2 separate regions of the Homo sapiens genome follow, and region 2 is linked to region 1. Evidence: promoter capture Hi-C in 16 types of primary human blood cells and fetal thymus (Javierre and others, 2016). All regions are on one chromosome and are shown on one strand. Each heading gives the region's core, a stretch centred on a gene start or on the middle of the fragment in contact. The rest is flanking DNA. Distances are from core to core; before and after follow the strand shown. Region 1 holds the start of RRM2B (ribonucleotide reductase regulatory TP53 inducible subunit M2B). Region 2 overlaps YWHAZ (tyrosine 3-monooxygenase/tryptophan 5-monooxygenase activation protein zeta).

What was found. Contacts are between HindIII fragments. The CHiCAGO score rates a contact against its expected background, and 5 or more counts as called.
Region 2: a fragment that was not itself captured here is called in contact with the fragment with the promoter of RRM2B in region 1 in 1 of 17 cell types (fetal thymus); the score reaches 8.4 in fetal thymus.

What each region holds. Positions count from the first base shown.
Region 1 is chr8:102,234,568-102,240,210 of GRCh38, reverse strand. RRM2B (ribonucleotide reductase regulatory TP53 inducible subunit M2B) reads left to right here and starts at 1,250. Exons shown (of 9, transcript NM_015713.5): 1 at 1,250-1,384. The coding sequence starts at 1,337. UBR5-DT (UBR5 divergent transcript) reads right to left here and starts at 760. Exons shown (of 3, transcript NR_125415.1): 1 at 511-760. RefSeq lists a silencer at 827-1,256 and enhancers at 1,327-1,426, 2,730-3,929. The HindIII fragment of the contact is 7,159 bases long and covers 1-2,426 here.
Region 2 is chr8:100,944,829-100,950,169 of GRCh38, reverse strand. It overlaps YWHAZ (tyrosine 3-monooxygenase/tryptophan 5-monooxygenase activation protein zeta), which reads left to right. Exons shown (of 6, transcript NM_145690.3): 2 at 1,270-1,574. The coding sequence starts at 1,281. Among named protein-coding and RNA genes, the nearest start is that of YWHAZ, 4.5 kb to the left of the region's middle. The HindIII fragment of the contact is 2,056 bases long and covers 2,146-4,201 here.

The DNA.
Region 1 (5,643 bases), core at 1-2,500:
GCATTTGACCCCTAGTAGTTGCTTTAAGAAAGACTGTCTACCCCTACGCTATGGCAGGTTTGAGAAAGGGCTTTCAGCATTTTCAACGCTTAAAGTGAGATCTTGATCCTATTTACCATCCTTCAGCCAGCCACAAAACAGGTGCATGCTGTTCAGGTCATGGCAAGATCCCGTCAATCTTTCAGCTTCAAACTACTTAAACAAATCTCTCTTCCATTTTATTTTTGTTAGACCAAACTATTTTTTTCAAAATATATTTTTTTCAAAATATTTGCCTGACTTTAGTAACGTGTCCCTCTCCCCCTCACTCACCCGCATTCACACACACACACACACACTTTCCCCCAGACACTTCCCCTTTTCGGTTGTTTACGCACGAAACCAGCCAGCCCTTTCCCTAGCGAAGTGTTTGGCGGTGTAGCTGTCCCGTCCCCGGCGCTTCCCACAGCAACAGCGCGTTCTCTTCGCCTCCCGCAGTCTCTCAGGACAGGCCAGGCTAGCGCAAAGTACCGTGTTCCTGGAACACCACGAGGGCGAGCTCGGGAATCTCGAGCCGGCCTGCAGGACACCTGCCGCACCAAGTGGCTAGAGCCCGGGGAGGGCGAGGCGAGGTGGGACGAGGCGGGGTGGTGAGCGGGCCGGGAAGGCGAGGCCGCGCGGACTCTGGGATAGCTCCTCAGGAGTGGGCGCCCGGAGTGGGCGAGCGGAGGAGGCGGGGCCGATGAGGTGAGGTGGGGCCAGCTGGAGTAGGCTAAGCAGTCCAGAGCAGGGGGCGTCCCTCAGTGGAAAGCCGGGCGACTGGGCGGTGCAACAGAGTAAGGCGGGGCCAGCGGAAGCAGGGAGATTTCCTTAGGCCGCAGGCGGGGAAATGGGGCTGGCCGGGGTAGGCGGAGCCCCGAGGCAGGGGAGGCGTGGCTGGCAGAGGTAGGCGGTGCCCCAAGGCAGGCGGGGCTTGCCGAGACAGGGATAATCCCTTAGGCCACAGGCTGGGAGGCAGGGCAGGCCGAGGCGGGGAGGATCCCTTAGGCCGCAGTAGGGGAGGCGGGTCGGCCGAGGCGGGGAGAAACCCTTAGGCCGCAGGCGGGGAGGCGGGGCTGGCCGAAGTTAGGCGGAGCCCCGAGGCGGGGGAGGCGGGGCCGGGCCGGCGCAGGGAGAGTCACTCAATGGACAGGCGAGAAAGCAGGACCGGCGCGGCGGGGCGGGGCCGGCCGAGTCCCTAGAGCTGGGGGCGGGGCGGACCCAGCGGACCAGCGGACCACCTGGGTGCTGTCGTAGTTGGAGGTGGCCTGAGGAGCTCAGTTCCCTCAGCGCCCGTAGCTTCGGCGGAGTCTGCGCGATGGGCGACCCGGAAAGGCCGGAAGCGGCCGGGCTGGATCAGGATGAGGTAAATGTTGCTGTTGCGTCTTCCCCCTCACCGCAGTCACGCCAGCCCGTTAGATTGCAAGTTGCAGGACCGCTGTAGGAAATGTTATTCGCCGCGGTCAGGACAGGCCTGTCCGCCCGCCCTCGCCGCAGCCTGGCTTCGTCGTTGCGAGCGCCGGGGAGGCCGTCCCCGGGGAGGGCGGAGGAAGGAGCTGACTTTGGGTTTGCGTCCCGCTCGCTGCTCTGCCCCGGGGCCAGCCAAGGACGACGCTTGGAGGCCTCAGGCCGGGGTGAGACTTACCCCTGCGTTTATCCGCCTCACGCTCTCCCACCCTCCTTCCCTGTTTTGGAGCCCTGGCCAGGGAAACCGAGGCAAGGAAAGAGGACTGTGGCGGCTCTGCTGGAGAGGTGCATACCATTTGGGATGGTGACAAGGAGTTGGAGAACGCGTGTGGAAATTGACACAGGTGGCTGGGGTGAAGATGACAGGTAGAAGGGGACACGAAATCCTCATGACCTCCTCCCAGTGAAAAAATCAGGGTAGGAGGCCAGTTTTGCTCAGGCCCGGCTCCTTAACTAACTGAATCTTCGGGGTGTCACTTTCTTCCTTTATACAATGGAAGTGATACTTCAGAGAGAATTAAGTAAAATGCTTTATGCAAAGTGCCACGAAAATTGTAGGTGCTTAATAAGCCCAAGTTGTTCATCCAAGTTGTTTATGCTGATAAAAGTACCTAAAATAAATAAACCAGAATTTGTTAGACTGTAGGATTGTATGGTAGTTTAAACTGTTGCTGTATAATTTTCAAACACTGTCATTTTGCAAATACTTCTAAGCCCTTTGTGGACAAGAGAAATGCTTTTTGTACTACTGGAACCTGTTGCTGTGGTATCTTTGATTTAATACTGTGAAGATTTGGGGGAAACAAACGTTTCCACCCCAAGAGATTCATGCTTGGCCCTACATTTCTTTAGAAAGTTGTAGATTCCAGGTTTGAGATTTTATTTTATTTAACTTGATTTTTGTAAGCATTTAGTAACTAACTGTAAATATCCCTCAAGCTTTTTCTTCCTGTTTTGAAACAAATGCGTTTAGTACCAACTTCCCTACTCAAAGGGGAAAATTCAGACTGCTGTTTATGCTAATGGCACCAGCAGTGATTCAGGCTTAACACCTGGATATTACATTTTATTTATTACTCCTATCTCAATGATACAGACCCGCAAGGACAGACAGAATTTTAGATTCAGAATGAATTTTAGTGGTCCAAAAGTTTTTAACTTGAGATGCTGGGTTGCCTGAAGCACTTTGTTTTTCTAGATGCCAGAGTGCATAATAGGAGACCTGCATCAGAGTCACTTGGAGTATTTTGTAAAAAATGTAAATTGCTGGACCAACACCCCAAACATAGTGAATCAAAATCTCTTGAGATCTGCATTTTTAACAAGTACTTCAGGTGATCCTGGTACACATATTAAAACAAAAACAAAAAACCCCCCACTGTCTTAAAGGGTCCATAGATAGACTAGAAGGGGCTTTATAAATCTCCTGAAGTGATATGTAGATTTTGTATGTGCAGATGTGAATCTTCTGAGAAAGGGGTCCATAGTTATTGTCAATTTCTCAGAGTTAACTATTGCTAATCTAATTCATAGTCTATTGTCAAGGTAAAGTTTAGGCCAGAAAACATTAAATGGCATGCCCAGGACTCAGTAGAGGAGCTAAATTTAAAACCAAGTTCTTGCACCTGGGCGGGTATCCCATTGGTTCCGTCAGACTTTGTGGGAATAGAAGTGAAAATAATACTTACAAGTAGTGTATGACTATGACAACATACAGCTATTTTACAGAAGTAGAAGAGACATAAAGGCAAAGAAACGGAAGTGGTGGAATTGGGGCTGGATAGGAGGTAAGAGCCTGGTATGATGCCAGCCTAGATTGGGGCATCGTAAGTGCTTGCTGGGAAATCTTGACCTAAATTGTTGTCCTGACATGCCCAGGCATGTCTTCCAACTGGGTGACCAGAAATTGAGTCAGTCGGAAACTGGAAGTACCATTCTGGAAAAAACAGCAGAATGTCACTAAGGAATGCCTACTGCTAAACTTTATTTCAAATTCTCATCACTTTACACCTGTGCGGCTATAATAATTTTGTTGTTTCTCTATCTCCTATCTTACCTGCCATTCAATCCTAATTACCATTGCCAAGTTAATCCTTCATTAGACCAGTGCCTCAGTGTCACTGACCCTGTGTCCCCCAAAAAACTCCCAAAAGAGTCTCAATTCCTACCAAAAAGCCTGGCCAACACCTCAGGCTGGTGAAGTCTTGTTGAAGCTGCTTTTTTCATGCTAACTGCCACATCTTAATTCAAGTCCTCATTTCCATCTTTGAAATTGGTTCCTTAGTTGCTTGCAAAATCTAGTTTTTTATCAATTAATCCTATACGTGGTTTTCTGATTAGTCTTCCTAATGCCACCTCTATTCATGTTAATTCCCATTCAGAAACTCTCCATGACTATTTGTACCCCCAAATCTGTGGGGTACAGATTTTCAAACTGTACCCTGCTATGAACGCCAGCACCTGGGGTTGGGGGCAAATGGGGAGAATTGGAGTATGAGCCTTCTAGACCTCCGATGTTTGAAGATCTTTGGCCACAAAATTGATTCCTAACCTCTTAGTCTGATTTATCTTAAGAGTCTAGATCCTTTGCTTTAGCCAAATCACATCATTCCTACTTTTGCTTTTCCTTGTCCTGCATCCATTTCAGCCTGTTTTAATCTCAGCTGGCTTCTCTTCTTTCATCTGCCCTTTAAATATCAGCATTCTCTAAGACTGTATCCTCAGTTGTCTTGCTGCTCTATATGTTCTCTCTGGATAATCACATCCATTCCCTTGGCAACCACTAATGGGATCTCCATCACTCGTGTTCTGCAGTGTTATATTTTTAACTGCTTACTGGACATCTTGAAACTGAATTCATTATCTTTTCTATTCTTTTTTTTTTGAGACGGAGTCTCACTCTGTCACCAGGCTGGAGTACATACAGTGGCACAATCTCGGCTCACTGCAACCTCTGCCTCTTGGGTTCAAGTGATTCTCCTGCCTCAGCCTCCCGAGTAGTTGGGAGTACAGGCGTACGCCACCACGCCCGGCTAATTTTTGTATTTTTAGTAGAGACGGGGTTTCACCATGTTGGCCAGGATGGTCTCAATCTCTTGACCTTGTGATCCGCCCGCCTCGGCCTCCGAAAGTGCTGGGATTACAGGCGTGAGGCACCACGCCGGGCCTGAATTCATTATCTCTTCTAATGACCTAGTTGACTTTGTGAGGATATTGTGTTTGTAACTTTGTTGTTGTCGCCTGGCTTGGTGGGAGGAGTTAAATTAAACTTCCGTTAAACATCTAATGTGAGAAGCAAAATTTTTGTCTGATTTATTTATTTATTCTCCAGGTACTGAGCACCTTGTGTGTGCCTTTTAGATCTTGTTATCACCCAGTTACTGGAGCTGGAAACATCAAGGGCATCTTTAACTGTTCTTGCCCCTTGTCCCAAATTCAAATTTTTAGGAAGAATAATTCATTCTACTTCTGAATATCACTTAAATCAATTTTTGTGTGTGTTTCTAGTTCAGGCAAGAGATGGGTAGTACAATAATCTTTTCATTGTTCTTTCTGCCTCTAATTTCTCTTCTAATCTAGCAATGTTTCTAGAAAAGCGATCTTAAAAGATATATCTGATTATGTTATTTGCCTTATTAAAAACCTTCAGTGGCTCCCAATAGCATACATCTTAGAGTTATTAGATGCCAAAGTGTTTTATATCAAAGCAGACCACTTTAACCTCCAAAATTTTTTAAAAATCAGATTACTACTAACCAATTTTGCTCTTTTATTAACCCTGTAAAAATATAGATACCCATGAGCTTTGAAATTTCTATGTCTAGTAGGCTGCTCTCTCATGCACCCATATATTTCTTTTTGTTTTGTTTTGTTTTTTGAGATGGAGTCTTGCTCTGTCACCAGGCCTGAGTGCAGTGGCGTGATCTCAGCTCACTGCAATCTCTGCCTTCTGGGTTCAAGTGATTCTCCTGCCTCAGCCTCCCGAGTAGCTGGGACTACAGGTACGCGCCACCACACCCAGCTAATTTTTGTATTTTTAGTAGTGACAGGGTTTCACCATGTTGGCCAGGATGGTCTCGATCTCTTGACCTTATGATCCGCCCGCCTCGGCCTCCCAAAGTGCTGGGATTACAGGCGTGAGCCACCGCGCCCTGCCCA
Region 2 (5,341 bases), core at 1,924-4,423, 1.3 Mb after region 1:
TAAAGGTTAAATAGTTTACGTATTGAGCCAGTACCTTGCATCCAAAGTGGTTAATTATTTGTTTAAAATGTGGCGACCTGTTCTCTCATTTGGTTAAAAAAATATTGTGGGATTTCCCTGGGAAGGTAAAAGATGATTAATATTCGGGAGCCAGCTGCCAAGGTGGACTCTTCTGTTCACCTTCTAACTTAAAAGTGCACTTCATTCAGGGTGTGTATTTTCCTCTGAAGTCATTTATTCTGTGGTGTCACTGTGTGGATTAGTATCTTTGTGCTGTTCGGCAACTTGCAAAAGGGTATCTTTCCAGAAAAATGTAGCTGAGGTAAATCGAAAAGGTCCAGGAAACTAAAATGCGAGGGAAAGAGAATTAGATGGGTAGTCATGGTAAAGGACAGCTTGAGTGGTAACATCCAATTACATTATGATGGCTAGAAGCAAAATGCAGCACTTCTGCATTTCAACTGGAGCGATGACATTGGAAACACTTATAAATTAAGTACTTCCAATGTGATATATTCTAGTACTCACAGTAAGAGTTGAAGTGTCATGACTTGCGGATATTTTTAAAGCATGTGGACATATAACAAGATAAAGAGTTGAGACATTAGGGTCAGATATTGATCCTTTGTGGTGGATTTATACTCAAAATATCTGAAAACAAACAGTTGGTCATTCCCCCCCAAATTGTTATGCTATTATTGGCTGGCAGTTGTTGCAGAGATCTAGTAGGTTTGGGGTAGGGGTAACACTAAAGCTAAAATGTAATCACTCTTGACAAGAGTATTATGAAAGTAAAAAGACGTGAGTTACATTAAACTGATATGAATTATGATTCTGGAAATATGATAGAAATCCAGATGTTCTCTGTAAACAATGCTTTTACTAAAGGAAGAAAAGCTGCTTAATTTTGGATCACTTAGTGGTATTGGAAATGAGTTGAGATTTTGATCAGGTAAGATTAGGGGTAGTTTTTGAGGCAGCTTTTGGAAGTAATTTTGACATGTGAAATTTGGGTCTTCTGAACAAATTTTAAGTTTTGCTACACTGATGTGTTAATGGCTGTAAGTTTACCTCTGATGCTGAGTATGCTAAATTTTTTTCCCTTTTTTGACTATCCTTTTGTGAGGCTGCATTTTAATTCCTCATGTGAACAGTCTTTCACAGGCAGTTAGGTTTCAGGTTTAAAAAACTCATTTACCACAGGTATAATTTTGAGTCTGTTTATTTTGATGGGAAAAATTTTAAATACTCCTTTTTTCCCCCCTGCAGAACATCCAGTCATGGATAAAAATGAGCTGGTTCAGAAGGCCAAACTGGCCGAGCAGGCTGAGCGATATGATGACATGGCAGCCTGCATGAAGTCTGTAACTGAGCAAGGAGCTGAATTATCCAATGAGGAGAGGAATCTTCTCTCAGTTGCTTATAAAAATGTTGTAGGAGCCCGTAGGTCATCTTGGAGGGTCGTCTCAAGTATTGAACAAAAGACGGAAGGTGCTGAGAAAAAACAGCAGATGGCTCGAGAATACAGAGAGAAAATTGAGACGGAGCTAAGAGATATCTGCAATGATGTACTGGTGAGAATCAATTCAGTCTGGCTTCATTATACTGTAGGGTCCCTATGAGTATCAGTTACATTACTCTTAACTTTTTGTTTGGTTTTTCTTTTCCTTCTAAACATTGTGTGTTCCAAATTTAAAAGTCTTCATGGTGTCATGACTAAAAAGATGTTAAGACAATTATAGATACGTGTATGTAAAATAATTGCAACAATGATTATGAAACAGTTCAGTTTTGTTAAAAATAACAGACTTTAGTATTGTATTTTATATTAATTGAAAATATAAACTAATTGTGTTACTGTTTTACTTATGGTTAGAATATTTGTAGTAGCTCTATAGCTGGTTATCTTAAATGTACATCTGTGGATAAAGGAATTTTACATACTTTAGGTAAGAGAGATGTAATAGGATACTCATTGTAGAAATAGTACTCTTCTCAGGATTAGCCGCTATAATGTTAATGTAATGAGTCAACCATGCAGAAAACTCTGGCGTCACAACTATGAAACCTCTTCCTGCATTGAATTCTTGAAGGTAAATTTTGAACACTCACAACCATGATGAAAGGTTATGAACAACTCAAGCTTGATTTTCCAGTTTGAATCGAGTATTTTAAGTATTCAGTACTTACTGTGTTGAAGCACTGCGCTTAAAAGAATTAAACTACATTTTGGTTAATTTTAATCTGTCATATAAAGTAGGGCTTTTTGATCAAGAATAGTTTAAATTTGAGGATAAACCAGTAGAGAATCCAACCAAGCTGGCAGTTTTTGGAATAATATTTAAAGTGGTTTTACTAAATGGTTACACTTAACCAGTATGGAAGGGCTCTGATATACAAAGAGGGGCAGCATCTCGATTTTTCTGGACAGATTACTGAATCTGGAACTCAGTATGGAAATCCAGGTTTGTTACTTACTATATGAACCTTGTTTATGGAAGAAGTGCTATAATGAGCAATAGGATAATGTCTGATGTGGTTGTGGGTTTGGGGTTTTTGTTAAAGTTGTGATGATACTATCATTTCTTTACATTTGTATTTACTAATGGAATAGCATCAGTTCCTAAACTGTAATTTTCTCAAATGATACTTACTTGACACTGTCTTTTTAAAGAATAGTGATTTTTTAAACATGCTTATTTGGGTTCACAGCCACAAACTCAATGAGGCATCTGTCTTGGGGCATTTTTTTGTTCTTTGCTTATTGAAACCTTTAGAATGATAGCTACTATTTGTATCTAAGTTGAAAAAAGGAATATCTTGCTTTTATTGGGGCCAAGTGACAAATGTCTGTTTTGTGATTTTGCTAAGGTAATAAGAATATTTAAATTTTGTTTTTTGTTTTTTTTTTTTTTTGAGACGGAGTCTTGCTCTGTTGCCCAGGCTGGAGTGCAGTGGCGCGATCTCGGCTCACTGCAAGCTCCGCCTCCCGGGTTCACGCCATTCTCCTGCCTCAGCCTCCCGAATAGCTGAGACTACAGGCGCCTGCCACTGCGCCCGGCTAATTTTTTTGTATTTTTAGTAGAGACGGGGTTTCACCATGTTAGCCAGGATGGTCTCGATCTCCTGACCTCGTGATCCGCCCTCCTCAGCCTCCCAAAGTGCTGGGATTACAGGCTTGAGCCACCGCGCCCGGCCAAATATTTAAATTTTGAAAATGTGATTTTTTTTTTCTATAATAAAAAATGTATTGGGTTTTTTTGTTTTTTTTGTTTTTTTTTTTTGCTCACCTTACTAACTAATATCTGTGTATGTGTAATTCAGTTTTGTTCAGTCTGGAGTGTTTTTCCCAATTATTACACCTGATCGAAAAGTTTTTATTTTGGCTTCAAAGGGTGTGTTACACATTAACATTTCCCTTAAGACAAAAGTCAATTTTAGGAATAAAAAGGAATGTAACATTTACCTTTTACTAACACGCTTATTTGCAATACCAGGTAGGTATGTGCATGTTTTCCATATACAAAGTATAAAAGTTCCTGTCATTGTGAGTCTTTTCCAAGGAAAAGACTTGTAGCAGGTTTGTTTTTTGTGTATGTTTGTTTGTTTGTTTGTTTTGAGACTGAGTTTTGCTCTTGTCACCCAGGCTGGAGTGCAATGGCACCATCTCAGCTCACTGCAACTTCCGCCTCCCGTGTTCAAGCAATTCTTCTGCCTTGACCTCCCGAGTAGCTGGGATTACTGGGCGTGCACCAGCACGCCCAGCTAATTTTTGTACTTTTAGTAAAGATGGGGTTTCACCTTGTCGGCCAGGCTGGTGACCAGGTCACGTCTAACTCTTGACCTCAGGTGATCCACTCGCCTTGGCCTCCCAAAGTGCTGGGATTACAGGAGTGAGCCACCACGTCCAGCCCAACTTGTAGCAGTTTTGACTATGCTTCCCTTTAGTTTCCTTATGAAGAAACTTTGTTTGCATAGAACCAGTAGATGAGGATAACAAGATAATCTCTTCATATAAATAGTTTCTTCTTGTTATGATTATTAAGGAAGTTCACTCTGGTCCCTACCCACATCGTTACCCTCCAGAATAGCACTGGCTTCCCAAAAAGTTTTAATGGTATTTACACTTTGAAAGTTTGGATAAATGAGAGTTTAATTTCTTTACTATACAAATGGCTTTGAAGAGAATTCTAAACAAGCTTTTGCTTCCAGCCTTGGTCTTTTCAGGAGTAAGACTTAGTGATCTTTGCATACTCAACGTGTAATAGATGCTCAAATATTTGTTAAACAAGCAGAAAGGCTTCTTTAGAGAAAGAGCATAGAATTAGGTCAGCAGCACTGCAAAATTTCCCTAGCTTTTTCTTTTTCTGCTTGGGAAAATTTGATATTTACCGATAATAGGCTTCTTTTTCCTACCATCTTTTTCAAATAGGTCACATCGACTCTGGAAACATATTGCATAAAATTCCTTCTGCCCTTTCTGTGAGATGGAAGAATAAAATGTAGCAGAACTGATATTTCTACTAGAAAAAGTTATTGAATCATTATTAATGATTAGTAAAAATATTTTAAATTATATTTTTAAGATCTTACATGATAAAAAATCAATTATAATTTTTTATTACTCCAGCCTTTTCTGGGCTTTGATATATATATTTTTTAATTTGAGAAAAATAAGCAGGTGTCCCTTTGCAGAAATAATAGTATTGGCTTGTGGCATTAGTGATAACCAGATTTTTTATATTGAGCACCTATTTTATAATAGCTATGAAAATAAACTTTCTTCCTACAAAAAGCAGCTAATCTCCAAAGTTCTGAGTTTTTCTGAAGAGCTCTTTAGTAACCCATTCTGGTTATATGTATTTATCTATTGTTTAACCATTTAATAAGCAAAGAGCTTGGACCATGTTGCATATTACAAGAGTAAATAGAGCATTATGGCGGGAAGTGGTCACTGGCATGCTCTTCACAATGTGGACTTTGCATTATGTAAAAGAACTTGGGTTTCTTCTCTTCCACGTGTTAATTTCAAACTGCAATATGTGAACTAATGCAATCTGCCTTTCCTGCCAGATGCTTAGACAAAAGCTCTCTTGGTAGTTGGGGAGGGACTCAACACTAGTACCTCTTTAAACCTGAAAGATGGCAGCCAAAAATTGGGTAGTTTTTATCTTGCACATGATGAAATGAATACCAAGGAAATACAGTCTAGGAAGCCTCTTTCAAACTCAAAGAAGTATGTCGAGGTGAATAATGGAGCTCAAGATACTGAGTCAAACTAGTTTTACCATTTAATAGATGCATGGCCTGAGGAAATCACTCAGTCCCTCTGAGAAAACTA